Linked DNA regions of Homo sapiens: region 2 is linked to region 1. Evidence: promoter capture Hi-C in 16 types of primary human blood cells and fetal thymus (Javierre and others, 2016). All regions are on one chromosome and are shown on one strand. The core of a region is centred on a gene start or on the middle of the fragment in contact, and the rest is flanking DNA. Distances in the headings are between cores, read along the strand shown. Region 1 holds the start of FIP1L1 (factor interacting with PAPOLA and CPSF1). Region 2 overlaps SCFD2 (sec1 family domain containing 2).

Region 1 (6,156 bases), core at 1,190-3,689:
CTTCAAAGCAGCTGCACCATTTTACAATCCCACCAGAAGTGTATGAGGGTTTTATTTCCCCATATCCTCACTAACACCTGTTTTATCTTTTCGATTGCAGCTTACTCGGTATGAAGTTGTATATCTTCCACTTTTTAAACCCAAATATTCCTTAAAATCTTCTAACTACCTCTCCCTCCATTACAGACACTAATGCATGTGGTCAGGGTAAAGCCGACATCTCCATGTACTTCTTTACATGGCTTGCTTTTTGAAATCTGGGGTAAAATTCTGACTCCCTGTATATGTTCTATAAATGAACACTTACATCTTTCTTACAATCTAACAAAGAAATCAACCTTATAACAAATCAGCTAATTACATTTTGAATGCAAACAATACATAGCATTGAAATTACAACCAAACTGCCATTATATCATCAAAAATGTTAATAAACTGGAAAAGCAGTAGTTTGGAGTGTTCCTGATTTACTTAAAAACATTTTCAATTAAGTTAAAATATTTTTATCAGTAGCTTAACGATTATACTGTATACTTCACTACTGAATTCACTTAAGAGTAACAAGTTACTTAACAGTGTAAAATCAGTCCAATCCTAAGTTCAAAAACTTTGTCCTTTAAACTACCAACAAATAGAATTGGCGTAAGATTAGGTCCTGAAACTGGAATAATCCTTAAAGGATTCAATGTCCTCCAAAATGTTGTAAGTCAGTGTTGTAATGAAGCCAATGATTGTAAGAAAATAATTTTGACAACTGACAGAACCATTGTTTCACACAACCTGTGTAATAGGCATCAACAGAAAATTTCACTAACCTGGCATTTTCTTCTTCTGGCCTTTCAACTTCATTTTCATCTACCAAGTAAAATAAACAAATAAATAAATAAGCAAACAAAATAAAGAAACCACTCTTAAAGAAACTAGTATTATGAAAATCTGAAGTGATCATCACAAGCACTAACCTAGGTCCTTTGCCAAATCACTGTGCACATGCACGTCCCATGGGCCTATAAGCACATCCAAAGTTAGATCACCTTATAATTACTTAACAAGATACTTATTTTATGGAAAAAAAAATCAGACTTTACTGCTATAAAAATAAGCTTAAATTTAAGAGGTAATGAAGATTTCCAGATCTTTGTAAAAGAAATCCTACACATTCACATTTCAAAGAGTAGTAACTAATGCTAAATCTTGCCACCAAACGATTTTTTTTTACAAGTTTATCAAAGTCACATCATCAAGGACCTGCATGGTGCCCAAAGTGCACTTTTACTATTCTATTCTAAAGACAATCAAGAATATATGTTTTAGGCAAGGAACAAACATTAACTTTCAAATCTGGTGTTAACAAGCAAGAAGGGATTGTGACTTAAAGTTAAAAACCAGATGTCAAACAAGTACCCTTCTAGAGAGAAGTACATGATGCATTAAATTTATTTTGAGAAAAACAAATACATGAGATGACACTGAAAACTATAAGCCGAAGGGTCATGAGATACCTCCATGATGTAGGTTAAACGGTAGTCTCTTAAAAAAGAATAACTTCACCTTAATACAGGAGACATTCAGAGTTTTCTTTATGGGCCATCTTTCTCTCTCTCTCTCTTAATTAATTATTTTTAAAGCACGACTTTCAGACAAGGAGGTACCCTTGCAGGTGCATTCCATACAAACTGACCATCAAGAAACAAGACGTTAGTTGTACAGCATTAACTTTATTTAGCTATTATTACAGAATGACTGTTTCTGAAAGAAGGGACAGGAAGGGCACCCTAAGGCCACAGGGCAAAAACAGACACCAAAAACCACCACCTCAGAATCGACAGAAAAAAACAAGGGTAAAGAGCGCAGCAGCTAGGCGATCGAGACGCCTCGGGGAAAGCACAGCGAAGCCGGGGGCCAGGACCGGTCACAGCCCCCCAGCCCGGCCCGGCCGCCACAGGGGTGGATGCGCATGGTGGGCGTGGGCCAGGCGGGAGACCGCCGCGGGGACTGGGGGCACGCGCACGCCGCGCTCGGCCTAAGTCAGGCCGGACAGGACTCCCAACCAGAGGCCCGAAGCGGCGGCGCGAGAGGCCAGGGACGCCGGCCGTTTGAGGGCCAAGAGGGGAGGCCTGAGAGAACCCGAGAGACAGAGACAGGAAGTTTCGTACCGCCATAGAGCCACTCTTCCTCCTCATCCCCTCCGGTCCCGCCGCTCAGCTCCGACACTAGGCGCTCGACCTCGCCGGCCGACATGGCCGCCCCGAGCGCAACTTAAACGCGGCGATCAACAGCCCCCTCCAACCCCTTCCCCAGCCTCGCAGCCCCGAGGCGCGAGAAGGGCGCGAACCCGCCGACGAACGAACGAAGAAAGCTCGAGACTCCAATCCCAGGAAGGCGACGGCAGCGGCGGCAAAGATGAAGCCTCCAGCGCAGGTCCGTCTGCGCATGCGCAGGAGACCCAAGCGGCGCGGCGCGTATAGGTGGCTTCGCTTCCGCGGCGGCCACCTGGGCCTGGTTGCGCCTGCGCGCTGAGGTGGGCCCCGCCCCTCTAGGATCCCGGTTTGCTATTTTGCGTGGCTTCCTCCCGTGGCGTCCTGAGTCGGCCAGGGTTCCCCGCCCCCACCCTTCTTTTTAATAACCCGTATTGCCATTGCTGGCGAGTACACCATTGTTCCCTTCTACTCTTCGTGCTCTTTCTTCTCAACTTTTTATTTGTTTTTTAATCTTCAGAAAGGCCTTCTTTTATTCTTTAATCAGCCTTGATACAGAATCATTACCTGTCACTCCCTTTCCTCACTGAATAGAGAAGAAATCACAATCAGTACTATTTCTCAAAAAATTAATTTTCACAGCCAACAAAAGCAAAACTAATAGATGAAGAATGCACTCTCCTTGTTAAAAACCATAAATTACTGTCAAGGTCAAAGACCGCCTCATTCCCCTACCCTTCTCTCCGGAGGTAGCCCTTGCTACAGATGCATATCCTGTTTGGAGTTCATCATTCCGAAATTTCCTATACACTTACTTCATGTGTTGTGCTGTTTTGGTGGGAGAACCTGAGATTGACAAGTCTTAAATAGTACAGTACAGTATAGTATCATCCTTCGACTTCCTTTTTTTTCTTTTTTTTTAGCATCCGTGTCTTGGAGCTCTTTTTCATTTTAGTATGAATCAAACTATATCTATTTTAAGTGCTTCATAAAATTGCATAGTATGGCTATCACAGAGTGAATATGGCTATTTCTCCATTGATGTACACCCAGATTGCTTTTGACTTTACACTTTTAACTACAACAAAAAATGACAATGAAGATCCACACGGCTCCTTGCAGATTTGTCTGTTTCTCAAAGATAGATCATAAAGTATGTACAGTTTTTATTTTAATAGGTAAACCAAATGTTCAGGCCGCTTCTGAAAGCACATCTTCCAGTGAAAAGATGACATACCATGGTTCAAACTGGAGCTCTAGGTTTGTCTAGGTTTTTTGTTTGTTTGTTTATTTATTTGAGGCGGAGTCTCACTCTGTTGCCCAGCTGGAGTACAGTGGTGCGATCTCTGCTCACTGCAACCTCCACCTCCTGGGCTCAAGCGATTCTTCTGCCTCAGCCTCCCAAGTAGCTGGGATTACAGGCACGCACCACCATGCCCAGCCAATTTTTGTATTTATAGTAGAGAGGGGGTTTCACCATTTTGGCCAGGCTGGTTTTGAACTCCTGACCTCAGGTGATCTGCCCACCTTGGTGTCCCAAAGTGCTGGGCTTACAGGCATGAGCCACCACGCCCGGCCTGTTTTTTTGTTTTGTTTTGTTTTGTTTTGTTTTGTTTTGTTTTGTTTAAAAAACAGTCTTACTCTGTAACCCAGGCTGAAATGCAGTGGCAGGGTCACTGTTCACTGCAGTCTCTACCTCCCAGACTCAAACAGTCCTCCCACTTCAGCCTCCTGAGTACCTGGGACTACAGACAAGCAGGTGCCACCACACCTGGCTAATTTTTTATTTTTTGTAGAGACAATGTCTCACCATGTTGCCTAGGCTGGTCTGGAACTCGTGGTCTCTAGCAATCCTTCCACCTAGGCCTCCTAAAGTGCTGGGATTACATGTATGAGCCACCAGGCCTGGCCTCAGTTCTTCATTATACCTAGCAGGTTGTATAGTCAGGCAATCAACCTTTCTATGCTTCAGTTTTCTCATCTATAAAATGGAAAGGCCAAGTTAGATGATCTCTGAGGTCTCTTTCATTTATAAAGTTTACAAACAGGGCATTCGCTTGTCAACAGAGAGAAATCCATTTTGATTGAACAACTAAATGAGTTTTCTTGCTCCTTGATGAATAAATATTGTTTTATCATTTATTTATTTAGCAATTACAGAATATCTGCTCTGTTTAAGAACTTGGAAAATGAAGACATGAGTGAAACAGTCCCACCCCTTAAAGAACTCTGAAGTTATTGAGAAAGACAGAGGGGCAGTAAACAACTCTCCTACAAGAGAAGAGGTGAATGTGTTGTAATAGAAGCACAAATGAAGGGTTTACGCCCAACCAATATCTCACATTATTTAAACAAACCATGTGGTTTTAATCTTTCTTACCTTTGAACACACTTCTGCCAGCTATTCCCAGCTCCCTTATCTTTTTATGATAATCTCTTGCATCCTTCTAAACTCTCTGGGGGTATAATCACCTTTGTGAAATCTTTCCTGAATCCCATTTTATCTCTTCCCATTTGTTTTGCCAGGAACTCTTCCAGCTATGTAGATTCAACAGTGAATAAAACAAAGTTCTTTCTTTTGTGGAGCTTTGATTCTAATAAGAGAGTCAGATAATAAACATATGAACGTATGATATGTCATGATGACAAGAATTGTGAAAAGAGTAAGCAATATAAAATGAAGTGATGGGGTGCAATTTTATATGGAGTGGTCAGGGAAAGCTACTCTGATGAAGTGATACAAGAGACTTGAATGGAGACAGGAGGTGAGCCCCGTGGATTTCGGGGTGACAGACTATCAAACAGAGGAATAAGAAGTGCAAAGGCCCTGAGGTAGAAGCATACTTGGCATGTTCAAGAAACTCAAAATGTAGCTAAAGTATAGTGAGTGAGAGAGAATGCAGATGAGGTCAGATGTATTTGGGGGGTGAGTGGGACAGAGCAACTCACTCCTTCTAGACACCATGCTGCTTCTATGCCATGTGCCTATCACACTGTATAGTAATTATTTGACTATATTTCTGTTTGCCTCAGGCTCTTCGCTAGACCAAGTCCACCTCCAAACAGGGCATCCCATAGCCATCACTTCAATTCCTAGTATAGTGCTTAACGCTGAGTAAATCTTCTTGGTCACTGTTGAAAGTAATAGAATGAAGTCTTATAGACTGTTTATGAGTATCGTAAGGCAATCACTCACAGTCCTGTCTATTGATCGTTCTATTTATTTAATTGGTTTCATGAGAAAACCAATTGCCTTTTGTTAAGGGATCTTTTTCTGTTTTCAGCTGCCTTTCAAGGCATTGCTTAAACATAACTGAAGAAATGATGAACAATACTAGAATAGCTTTTGTGGTGGAGGTAGCATTTGAGCTAAGCTTTGAAAATGAAGATTTCCACAAGCAAAGAAGCACATAAATCACTAATAACTACTCTGAAAAGACCTCTTCCTCCTTGCTTCTAAGCTGAGTTTCTTGCCTGAATATGCTTTCTTAGTTAAAGGTATCTTTCTCTCCCTGCTCACCAGGGGAGACATCAAAGGTAGGTAGTTTGAAGATATTATATATTCCTCCTTCCATTTCTTATATTATGACCTTATCAAACTACAGTGCTCCATATATTCTATTTGTTTTCCATTTTATTGTTGTTTTGTGGTCTGTTGGTTTCTGGCAAAAAAAATTAAAAGATAAGTTTTAATATACTTATCTCTGAGAAGTACTGAGAGTGTTTAGTAGATGATGATGAGTTAAATGATGACAAGAATTGGAGATCAAATAAAAATGCCTTGCTCACTATCCAGTATATATAGCAAGTACACATAAATGTGTTTGGCATGCATATGATGTTTATGCCCAACTGTGCTCTTTGCTGTCACATAAATTTCAATGTTCTTAAATTCTCAATGTTCTTAAGTTTCCTCAGCAGTAAATTGATACATTAAAATGACATTTGTACCAATATT
Region 2 (6,156 bases), core at 2,619-5,118, 180 kb after region 1:
ACCAAAATGTGATTTTACTCTCTCCAGATACGAAACCTCCTGCTGAGTGATCTGGATGGAGTGTTGGTGGGGACATTTAGGGATCCAACTACTTCTTGAAGAATTTTATCCCATGTGTTATTAATTTACCCAATTCCCTCCCAATTTTAGAATAAACACTTGCTGCCATTTCCTGAGCCTTTCAAGGATTCTATAGTATAAGTAGGTTTGTTTCTCACCTCTTCCACCAGTTGGGATTTGGCTTTTTTGACTTGACTTTCATAAGTCCTTTAACCTTATTCATTGGCTTTCAAGCTCCTAAAATGCTATTGCTATCTCCTTCAAGTTTATTTTATTTTTTTGCATTTGTGGGTTTATTAATGTATAAAAAAACAACAAAACTTTTTTTTGTTTTTCTTTTTAAGTAATTTAGTAGGGTTTTTTGAGGGAGTGTATTTATTTTTCTATGTTTCATTTGATCTTTCTTTCTTTGATCGAAAATTGAAAATCCAACTTACAGATCTTTAGTTATGCCTCATGATCTAACTAGAATCAAATACAAGCTAAAAAAAATCTGATTATGCCTTCTCTTTTTAAAATTCATGTTTGTCAGCATATAAACAGAACCAAAGACAAAAACCACATGATTATCTCAATAGATGCAGAAAAGGCCTTTGACAAAATTCAACAACCCTTCAGGCTAAAATCTCTCAATAAATTAGGTATTGATGGGATGTATCTCAAAATAATAAGAGCTATCTATGACACACCCACAGCCAATATCATGCTGAATGAACGAAAACTGGAAGCATTCCCTTTGAAAACTGGCACAAGACAGGGATGCCCTCCCTCACCACTCCTATTCAACGTAGTGTTGGAAGTTCTGGCCAGGGCAATCAGGCAGGAGAAGGAAATAAAGGGCATTCAATTAGGAAAAGAGGAAGTCAAATTGCCCCTGTTTGCAGATGACATGATTGTATATCTAGATAACCCCATTGTCTCAGCCCAAAATCTCCTTCAGCTGATAGGCAACTTCAGCAAAGTCTCAGGATACAAAATCAATGTGCAAAAATCACAAGCATTCTTATACACCAATAACAGACAAACAGAGAGCCAAATCATGAGTGAACTCCCATTCACAATTGCTTCAAAGAGAATAAAATACCTAGGAATCCAACTTACAAGGGATGTGAAGGACCTCTTTAAGGAGAACTACAAACCACTGCTCAATGAAATAAAAGAGGATACAAACAAATGGAAGTACATTCCATGCTCATGGGTAGGAGGAATCAATATCGTGAAAATGGCCATACTGCCCAAGGTAATTTACAGATTCAATGCCATCCCCATCTAGCTACCAATGACTTTCTACACAGAATTGGAAAAAACTACTTTAAAGTTCATATGGAACCAAAAAAGAGCCTGCATTGCCAAGTCAATCCTAAGCCAAAAGAACAAAGCTGGAGGCATCATGCTACCTGACTTCAAACTATACTACAAGGCTACAGTAAACAAAACAGCATGGTACTGGTACCAAAACAGAGATATAGACCAATGGAACAGAACAGAGCCCTCAGAAATAATGCCACGTATCTACAGCTATCTGATCTTTGACAAACCTGAGAAAAACAAGCAATGGGGAAAGGATTCCCTATTAAATAAATGGTGCTGGGAAAACTGGCTGGCCATATGTAGAGAGCTGAAACTGGATCCCTTCCTTACACCTTATACAAAAATTAATTCAAGATGGATTAAAGACTTACATGTTAGACCTAAAACCATAAAAACCCTAGAAGAAAACCTAGGCAATACCATTCAGGACATAGGCATGGGCAAGGACTTCATGTCTAAAACACCAAAAGCAATGGCAACAGAAGCCAAAATTGAGAAATGGGATCTAATTAAACTAAAGAGCTTCTGCACAGCAGAAGAAACTACCATCAGAGTGAACAGGCAACCTTCAGAATGGGAGAAAATTTTTGCAACCTACTCATCTGACAAAGGGCTAATATCCAGAATCTACAATGAACTCAAACAAATTTACAAGAAAAAATCAAACAACCCCATCAAAAAGTGGGCCAAGGATATGAACAGACACTTCTCAGAAGAAGACATTTATGTAGCCAAAAAACACATGAAAAAATGCTCATCATCACTGGCCATCAGAGAAATGCAAATCAAAACCACAATGAGATACCATCTCCCACCAGTTAGAATGGCAATCATCAAAAAGTCAGGAAACAACAGGTGCTGGAGAGGATGTGGAGAAATAGGAACACTTTTACACTGTTGGTGGGACTGTAAACTAGTTCAACCATTGTGGAAGTCAGTGTGGCGATTCCTCAGGGATCTAGAACTAGAAATACCATTTGACCCAGCCATCCCATTACTGGGTATTTACCCAAAGGATTATAAATCATGCTGCTATAAAGACACATGCACATGTATGTTTATTGAGGCACTGTTCACAATAGCAAAGACTTGAAACCATCCCAAATGTCCAACAATGATAGACTGGATTAAGAAAATGTGGCACATATACACCATGGAATACTATGGAGCCATAAAAAAGGATGAGTTCATGTCCTTTGTAGGGACATGGATGAAGCTGGAAACCACCATTCTCAGCAAACTATGGCAAGGAGAAAAAACCAAACACCTCATGTTCTCACTCATAGGTGGGAATTGAACAATGAGAACACGTGGACACAGGAAGGGGAACATCACACACTGGGGCCTGTTGTGGGGTGGGGGGAGGAGGGAGGGATAGCATTAGGAGCTATACCTAATGCTAAATGACGAATTAATGGGTGCAGCACACCAACATGGCACATGTATACATATGTAAGAAACCTGCACGCTATGTACGTGTGCCCTAAAACTTAAAGTATAATAATAATAAAATTTTTTAAAAAATTAAATTAAATTAAAATAAAATTAATATTTGTATTATAAATCATATCAACCTTATTCTCCATGAAATACTTGAACTTTGCTGAACTTTTAAACTTTTGATTTTTAGAATGGATTTATACATTTCTGATGAATTAGTGAAAAATTTAATGTGCATAGAGATGAATGACTGAACTGAATCCATTGAATGCATGTGTATATGTGTCATGAGGTTGAGTCTTCTAGAAGCTACACAGGTCACAATGTAGGCTAAATTCATGCCATTAAGACAGAATGTACTTTAGTCTACATTTATCCTTCAGCAATAAATAGTCAGGATTTAATTTGAACACATTTTTTTTCTAAACCAGATAGTCTACCTCATAGAGGAAAAGTTTTTTCAGTTACGAGACAAGCGCTTGTCCTATCTTCTGACTTTTCAAACAGGAAGCCCAGTGTTCTTTCCAGAAACAGATTATTGCTTTTACCTTAAGTAGAGGAAAAACTCTGTAATTAGTTGTAGAGACAGTGCTTATATTTTCCTTTCAAATCTGATTGTATCAGGATACTATGGCAATTTTTTTCATTTGAAATCTACTTTAATAGTTCAAAGTTTTTGGAGATTCACTTTCATAGTGCTACTTATATTCTACAGTGGGTTTAGTTGGTGGTGGTGGTGGTGAGTTTGGAGGTAGAGGGATGGGAAAAAGAATAGGAGAGGCTGTTGTTTAAGACAAACTTCTATTGCAATGACTCTGTTTCTTATATCCTGGTTTAAAGGATCAGGTGCAGAATAATCACTCACTCCTAGGAAGAAGGATTATTACATGAGTGCAAGCTGTATATCTGATTTTGGCCAATGACCTCAGTGCTATAGACTGAATTGTGTTCTGCCAAAACCCGTATGCTGAAGTCCTAACCTCCAATGTGATTGTGATAGTAATTAGAGATGAGGCCTTTGGGACATAATTAGATTTACATGAGGTCATGAGGGTGGGACCTTCTGATAGGATTAATGCCTTTATTAAAAGAGACACAAGAGAACTTGCATTCTCTCTCTCTCTCCCTCTCTTGCTCTCACTCTCACTCTCTCTTGCTCTTCTTCCCGCCTCCCTCCTTCTCTCTGCCATGTGAATACACATGAAAAAAGCCATCTGCAAGCAGGAAGAGAGCCCTTACCAGAACCTGGTCATACTGACACCCTGATGTCAAACTTCCAGCTTCTAAAACTGAGAAAATAGATTTCTCTTGTTTAAGCTACCCAGTGCTACTTATTTTGTACGGGGACAGGTAGCTTCCATGCCCTTTCTGGTCATTCCACCTTTCCAGCATGTTGTTGATGTGTTCGCCAGCTGGGAAGTTCATCAAGTCTTGCTGCTAAGGAGTTTTTGTAGAGCTCAATCTGAAGTCCCACCCCCTTCAACCCTCTAATTACTTGATCTTTCTGATGACCAGCCCCATCCTGAGGCTATCTAGGGATCCTACCCTAAGTTACCTTATTAACATAAAGTCAGCTAGTTATGAATCAAAAAGAGCTAGTTATGAATAAACAATGATACTCTTATCACTCAGGAAATTCTAAAGGTTTTTGGTGCTCTTTGCCAGGAACCAGAAACAAAAACCAAATGTATTTCTTCTTATACTACACAACCCAAAGTTCATACTCTGTTGTTTGTAATCATCTCCCCTCTCATTCGATCAGATAGATAAAGAAGGGAGAGAAGCAAGAAAATAAGCAAGCATTTTATGTAGTATGTCAGGGTGCTTTCTGACTACAGATGATGGAGAAATGAAATAATAAGGAAAAATGTTATTATTAGAAGGAAATGCTGCCTTCTTTTCCATCACAAATGCCATCACTCAGAGATGAAACAAGTGCTTGCCTTTAGAGGGACTGAGTGGTTATATTGGCTTTGCTACAGAAGAACCTTGGCCCCTCAAACTAGTTAAGTTTGGCAGTGATATTTTGGTTGGTGAGAAACTAATTAGAAGATGGGAGCATTTTACATACTCTTCAAATGACCCAGCATTTCAAACAGATGTTTCAGGAAAATGCATACCTGGTGCTCTTCCATTAGTGAATTACTTTGTTGTAACTGTCACAAGCTCTTTTGGACGGTAATTATGAAGAATTATGTCCCATTTGGCAACTCAAATGTATGCTGTTTAGCTCAATTTGAGGGAAATTTGATGGTAATTATAGGCACAGTTTTTCTGTTAAGTCTTGAAAAGGAACCTATCACAACAGTTGAGAAAACCTGGGTGATAAAGCATAGGAGCAGTCCATATTCTCCAAGAAGTATACATATGAGGGTTCTTATAGGATCTTTAAATGAACACATGTATACACACATGCACACACACACACATTCACTCACACAGCATAAAACCAAAACATCCCCAACTCCAAAACAACTTAAACAAAAATGGACAAGTAGAGAGAGTATAATGTATAATAATAAGACTAGAATAAACTATAACTTGAAGTACTGAAACTGAAAATTTATAGCATTTAAACATGATTACAATAATTGCTGGCTTCATATGATATTTCATAGGTTTTAGTATTCTTAGGATCTCTTTTTTTACATTTAAAATATTAGATTATGTGTCTATAAAATAATACTTTTAATATAATTTTTTAGTTGAAATTATTAGATTTAAAAAAATCCTGTTTGAATTTATAACAGCCCGTCCCCTTAAAGCCAGCAGGCAGAAAACAAGCAACTCAATTTGAGTTGAAATTGAAGATGAAGATAAACAACAGTACTTGCCTAAGATGATAGGAGGTTTGATTCTTTTAAAGTCAAATACAGTAATTATTGTTTTGTTTAGTGACCTTAAGGCTTTCAATTATTAAATAAAAGCTGCAATCACTCGTATTTCCAGAATTAAGAGAAATCCATATGGATCACCATTATGCATGGAAAAAAATTGCCATTATATATCTATATGTTTTATCTTGGGACATGGTGAGGACTTTGCATTTTCCTGTCCGCAAACTCCCAGAATTTTGTTAAGTCATTGGAAGCCAAGCATTAAGTACAAATAGTTTCAGTTTCCATATTTCCTAGCAGGCCAGCCAAGAGCCATCCTAGACAGATGGAAAGAAAAGGTTTATTCCTGGAAAATATGAAGACATTCTTATACTTGTAAATATTTTTTTACCCCATATTTTTGAAATTAACATCTCATTAGCATAGGTTACATTGACTTGTGTTTATAAACCAGCTCTGCATTTCATTTTAGAGCAAGATGAAATATTCATTTCTTTTTTTTTTTTTT

Evidence for each region. Contacts are between HindIII fragments. The CHiCAGO score rates a contact against its expected background, and 5 or more counts as called.
Region 2: a contact is called between a fragment that was not itself captured here and the fragment with the promoter of FIP1L1 in region 1, in 1 of 17 cell types (activated CD4 T cells). The highest score is 5.4, in activated CD4 T cells.

The regions. Positions count from the first base shown.
Region 1 is chr4:53,373,924-53,380,079 of GRCh38, reverse strand. It overlaps FIP1L1 (factor interacting with PAPOLA and CPSF1), which reads right to left and starts at 2,439. Exons shown (of 18, transcript NM_030917.4): 1 at 2,157-2,439; 2 at 963-1,007; 3 at 816-855. The coding sequence starts at 2,241. It overlaps LOC105377654 (a long non-coding RNA gene), which reads left to right and starts at 2,340. Exons shown (of 3, transcript XR_007058118.1): 1 at 2,340-2,421; 2 at 4,350-4,483; 3 at 5,483-5,911. RefSeq lists a silencer at 1,862-1,951 and enhancers at 1,624-2,172, 2,112-2,231, 2,282-2,371, 2,173-2,721. The HindIII fragment of the contact is 4,469 bases long and covers 1,106-5,574 here.
Region 2 is chr4:53,197,754-53,203,909 of GRCh38, reverse strand. All of the region lies in intron 4 of SCFD2 (sec1 family domain containing 2), which reads left to right. Among named protein-coding and RNA genes, the nearest start is that of SCFD2, 170 kb to the left of the region's middle. RefSeq lists an enhancer at 4,797-6,156. The HindIII fragment of the contact is 8,880 bases long and covers 1-6,156 here.